Linked DNA regions of Homo sapiens: region 2 is linked to region 1. The links are contacts of gene promoters, found by promoter capture Hi-C in blood cells and fetal thymus (Javierre and others, 2016). All regions are on one chromosome and are shown on one strand. The core of a region is centred on a gene start or on the middle of the fragment in contact, and the rest is flanking DNA. Distances in the headings are between cores, read along the strand shown.

Region 1 (2,700 bases), core at 44-2,543:
GCCTGTAATCCCAACACTTTGGGAGGCTGAGGCAGGCAGATCACCTGAAGTCAGGAGTTCAAGAGCAGTCTGGCCAACATGGCGAAACCCCATCTCTACTAAAAATATAAAAATTAGCCAGGCATTGTGGCTCATGCCTGTAATTCCAGCTACTCGAGAGGCTGAGGCAGGGGAATCATTTGAACCCGCGAGGCGAGGTTGCAGTTAGCTGACATCGTGCCACTGCACTCCAGAGCCTTTTAAGACTCTGTCTTAAAAAAAAAATATATATATATATATATATGGACTATTAGTATCCCCATTTTACAGATGAGGAAAATGAGACTTCATAGAGTTTGGGGTGCCTGTGGTCATATCTATAATTGTGAAAAAGTCAGATTCCAAAGCATTTTACCAATATTGCCTAAGTGAGTGGGAGGGAAGGGAAGGCTCTCTGGAGTCGGGCTATGCTGGACAGCGGGGTTCGGAAACTCTGGTGAATAAAGTGGTAGTTGTTTCTATGAACATGGAGTGAGAAGGCCCAATCCTAAACACACCAGTGCTTAAGGCAGCTGCAGAGAATTAAAGGCAATAGAAAAAGGGGAGCTGGATGGCAGGAGCTTGGATGGGGAAGACTTCAAGGGCAGGTGAAGATGCCAACAGCTTCCTGCCTGGAGGACCGAAGAAGGGTTGGGCTTCACTGCAGACCTCCAGGAGACAGATTTGCTTGTTGGGACAGAGTAGGGAGGTGAAAGCGAGGTGAGGAAGTTCGGGGGTGGGGGAGGTGCACACAGCTCCACTAAAGAGCTGGAAGAGGCCGATGGAGTATTCATGAGACGGCTGATCCAGGAAGGACTGTGGCATATTAATATGGAAAAGGCCTGTTTGTTTGTGCTTGGAGAGGAAGGAGCCAGAGGAGAGGGGAGCAAGGTGGGCGGGAGCTGGGGAGAGCCTGCAGCAAGATCTGCAGAGCCCGAGGTGCTCTCGGCCTGGGCCCTGGAGAGGACGTAGGGTAAGTGATGGGGCACAGGCTGTGCGTCAGGGGGAAGGTGCTGGGGCCTGAAGGTCCCGAGGGGAACCTCAGACGGCCTTATGCCTTCTCACAAAGAAACTGGACCATCATCTCCGACCCGCACCCCGGTCGCCCCTCGAGGACAGAGGGTGGGCGCAGGAGGCTGGACCGAGCGGGGCGGAGCTGGATGCCTGGCGCCGGCCTCCCTCCCGGCAACCCCGCCGGTCCTCTCAGGTGACAGCTCACGCCGGCCCCCGCCCCGCCCCCCGCATATTCAGGAGCCCCAGCCCACCCTGCCCGCGAACAGCCAGCGCTGGAGGAGCGCCGGGAGACTCTGCCGTCGGTGCGTGCGCGGACACGCACCCGTCCCCCTTGGTCTCGCCGCCAGCCATGGCCGCCGCTACGGCCTCCCCCCGCAGCCTCCTTGTTCTCCTCCAGGTGGTAGTGCTCGCTCTGGCGCAGATTGTAAGTTTCGCAGCCCCTCCGCTGCCAGGGTCCAGGGTGCGGGGTCTGGAGTCCGGGATGGAGGAGCTCTGCCTGTGTCCCGCGCCTACTGACACCCCTAGCCCGAGAGGCCACCTGAGGACAGCGCCGCGGGCAGGTCCCCTCGGTGGGTGCATACATGGTGCCCATCGCGGCACCGTGAATGGAGGTGGCTGAGCCGGAGAGTCAAACGGGACCCGTCCCCAGACGCGCGGCCCGGCCCGGGACAGGCAGCGTGGGGCAGGAGCTGGCGCCCGGTCCTGGCAGCCCGGGGAGCCCAGGTGGCGGGGCATACAATGGTGCTCATTCACCCGCTGCGCAGCCTCCGCCCCCGCCGCCTCCCAGGGGGCGCCGGCTCCAACCAGACGCCGCTGTCGCCCCGAGGCGGCCTCTCGGCCCTGCCCGCCTACCCACGTCTCCCTTCCGAGGGCCGCCGGGGGCTGCGGGCGCGCGGGTAGGGCAGAGACTGGGCCCGGTCGGGTGCTGGGTGTGGTTTCGAGCTCGCCTGCGGGGCGCCAGCCTGGCACTTCGCGGCCTGGGGAGGTCGTGGGCACCGGGACCCCTGCCTGGGTCCGAGCTGGCCTCTTAAAAGGGCCGCCTTTTAAGATCTCTGATCTGTTCAGAGATGGGCAGCAGGATGGAGACTCTCCAGCTGTGAGCTCGCCTCATCTTGATATGACTTGTGACCTCCCTGAAACCTCACACCCACCCAGGGGCATTGAATTGCAGGCAAACGGGATCCAGAGAGAGGGTCTGCTTTCTGGGAGGTGCCGGCTCCTCCTGCTCCCCTGCAGCAGTCAGGGCTTAGCAGAGGGAGGACCGGGCAGCTGTGCTGCCGAAGGGGCGCTCCGAGTGGGAAGATAGTACCCGCTTCACCTCCCTACACCTCCTTTCTCTGCGCCTCCCCCACTTTCCCGTCGGGTTTTCCCGCACCATGGGGAGAGGAGGAGGCGCTGTCTCTGCCTGTCGTTCACGTAAGAACAACAACCCGAGCCACCGCTCACTGAGGGCCGGCAGCCTGCTAGGCACAACCTTACATTCCATCTGTGATTTATTTGAGCTGTCCACGTCTCCATCTATTCCCCACCGCGACCGCGCAAGGGCAAACTGGCACAGTGGAAGGAGTCGGGCAGATCCAGGGCGGACTCCTGGCGCCGCCGCCCACTCTCAGTGACCATGGACCCTTCACGTTCTGAGCCAGTTTCTTCGACTGCAAACTGGGGCCC
Region 2 (2,740 bases), core at 97-2,596, 110 kb after region 1:
GTTCTGAATTTTGACTTTCAGATGACCCAGTCAATTAATCTTAATTGTATGTGTCTGGCTAAATCTTCCCCAGCAGCGGTTTCCCATTACATATGCCTATTATTGGGATACCCCCAGGTACCAACATACAATGTACTTTTATTCCCAGCTGTTGCTCAAGTTAACTCTTCTCCTGAACTCAGGTGAAGTAGATGGCAAATATGTGTGTAACTCTGCTACTTTAGAACGTATGCTGAATTTAAACTCTAATTAATCAACATCTGGTGACTCACTAGTAATTTTCCAAAGCAAACTACAGATTATTTTTAATTCTGTTGACACTTGCAAAAGAAAAGTATCACTAGGATAAGAGACTGACTAGTGGCTGGGCGTGATGGCTCATGCCTTGTAATCCCAGCACTTTGGGAGGCCGAGGCGGGCGGATAACAGGAGGTCAGGAGTTTGAGACCAGCTGGTCACCAGTAGAAACGGTGAAACCCCGTTTCTACTAAAAATACAAAAATTAGCCAGGCGTGGTGGCACGTGCCCGTAATCCCAGCTACTCGGGAGGCTGAAGCAGGAGAATCACTTGAACCCGAGAGGCAGAGGTTGCAGTGAGCCGATATCACGCCATTGCACTCCAGCTTGGGCAACAAGAGTGAAACACCATCTCAAAGAAAAAGAAAGGAAAAAAAAAGACTGACTAGTTATGATGATACGATGATACTAGGGTTCCTTTAAAATAATTTTAAGATAACTTTATGTGTACTAAATGTTTTGCATTGGTATATTTAACAAATTAATCCACATCATGATAAAAATGTTTTAAATCACACCTATATGTATAAATATGAACAGAATGATATATCACCAAGATGTTCCCAATCAGACCATGGCTTATCAATGTCTAACACATGGAAATAGGTGGTAGAGTGGAAAGAAGGCTGACCAAGGAGCCAGGTGACCTGCATTCCAGCTGGGCTTGGCCTTTCTAATTAGCTTAATGCAGGAAGGGCCTTGGAAACATTATCAGCTTGGCTTCAGTTTCATCACGTGTAGAACACGGAGGGTTAGACCAACCGATATTAAACCACTGAAATAGACTGGAAAATTTAATTCTTGTAGAGCAGAGGTTAGCAAATATTTTTCGTACAAGGACAGACAGAAAATATTTTTAGCTTTTCTGGCCAGAGAGTTTCTGTTACAACTACTCACCTCTGCCACTGTAGCACAAAAGCAGCCACAGACAAGAAATGAATGTAAGACTTTGTGCCAGTAAAGCTTTATTTATAAAAACAGGTAGCTGGGTGGGTGCCAACCCCCTGTTGTGAATAGTATCAAATCGTATTTCCTATAACACAGTTCCCTGCAAACTCAACACAATCAGGAAAAATCCTGTTTCCAAACATTGTTATTAATAAACCAGGAAAGATCATGTATAAAACAAAGCTTATCATCTTCCCAGACTCTCCCTTGTCCCTCCACCCATTCTTTCTTCTAATTAGCAGCAGAGCACCACTATTCTTCCAGTCTCCCAAGCTAGAAGCCTTATGAGCCTCTTGAAGGTATCTCTGTACATCCTCCTCTGTTTTTGCCCGGTCAGCAAGTCCTGTCCTTTGTCCTCTTGCTGGCTACAATCTCTTGTCCTAAACATAATACATATTCTTTCTGTCTAGTCTTCCTAAAACACCACTTCAGACATGTCACTTCCTAACTGCAAAGCCTTCTTAATTTCTACTGCATCAAATCTAACCATTAATGCAATGGAGTTTCCAAGCCCTTCTTTTCCAACCCCAACAGGTCTTATTTCTCACAAGACTTCAATAACCACTCTGCCCTAAGCAGGGTATTTATTCTCCAGTGGATCCCTGCAAAGTACTCATTAGTACCTGTGCTTTACTACCATTCAGTCATCTCCAAACCATTCTTTCCACCCATCCAAACCCCACCATTACTTAAAGCTCCAATTCAAGGATCAATTTTTCTATAAACACAGAATTCTCTATCTTTACACTTCTACTGAATTTAGGGCAGTAATCATTGAGCTTAGTACTTCTCTTTCTGTAACTATTTTTGGCAAACAAACTGGGCCATACAGTTTGCTGTATTTGCCAATGCCTAATACAACATTAGAAACAAAACGGGTTTTAATTAAGCAAAGGCTGAGAGAGTAAAGTTGTTATTATTACAGGATGAGGAATCAAACCCAAAATGTAGTGTTTTGCTGCTGCTTTTGAATTGTTTTGGCATGTGTCAGGTGCTGAGAATAACCATTACTACATCTCAGTCTGATTAACTTTCCCAAACATAAAATACTGCAGCTGCTATTAGAGGTAAGCAATCTATCTCCTTACACTACCTGATACTGCAAATAAATAAATTAGCATACAGGTTTATAGTTGGTCTCTTATGATCGCCTTTTTTTTTTTTTTTTAAGACGGAGTCTCGCCCTGTCGCCCCAGCTCGAGTGCAAATGGCACGATCCTGGCTTACTGCAACCTCTGCCTCCTGGGTTCAAGTGATTCTCTTGCCTCAGCCTCCTGAGTAGATGGGATTACAGGCGCACACCACCACACCTGACTAATTTTTTGTATCTTTAGTAGAGACAAGGTTTCACCATGTTAGCCAGGCTGGTCTTGAACTCCTGATCTCATGATCTGCCCGCCTCGGCCTCCCAAAGTGTTGGGATTACAGGCATGAGCCACTCTGTCCAGCCCATATGACTGCTTTTAAAAATGTAGATGAAGTCATAGGAGGCTAT

Evidence for each region. The method cuts DNA at HindIII sites, captures the fragments that hold promoters and counts their contacts. A CHiCAGO score of 5 or more calls a contact.
Region 2: a fragment that was not itself captured here is called in contact with the fragment with the promoter of COL9A2 in region 1 in 1 of 17 cell types (naive B cells); the score reaches 5.4 in naive B cells.

The regions. Positions count from the first base shown.
Region 1 is chr1:40,315,879-40,318,578 of GRCh38, reverse strand. COL9A2 (collagen type IX alpha 2 chain) reads left to right here and starts at 1,293. Exons shown (of 32, transcript NM_001852.4): 1 at 1,293-1,456. The coding sequence starts at 1,382. RefSeq lists enhancers at 1,162-1,798, 1,799-2,435 and a silencer at 1,609-2,118. The HindIII fragment of the contact is 22,313 bases long and covers 1-2,700 here.
Region 2 is chr1:40,209,551-40,212,290 of GRCh38, reverse strand. All of the region lies in intron 5 of RLF (RLF zinc finger), which reads right to left. Among named protein-coding and RNA genes, the nearest start is that of TMCO2, 37 kb to the left of the region's middle. The HindIII fragment of the contact is 168 bases long and covers 1,263-1,430 here.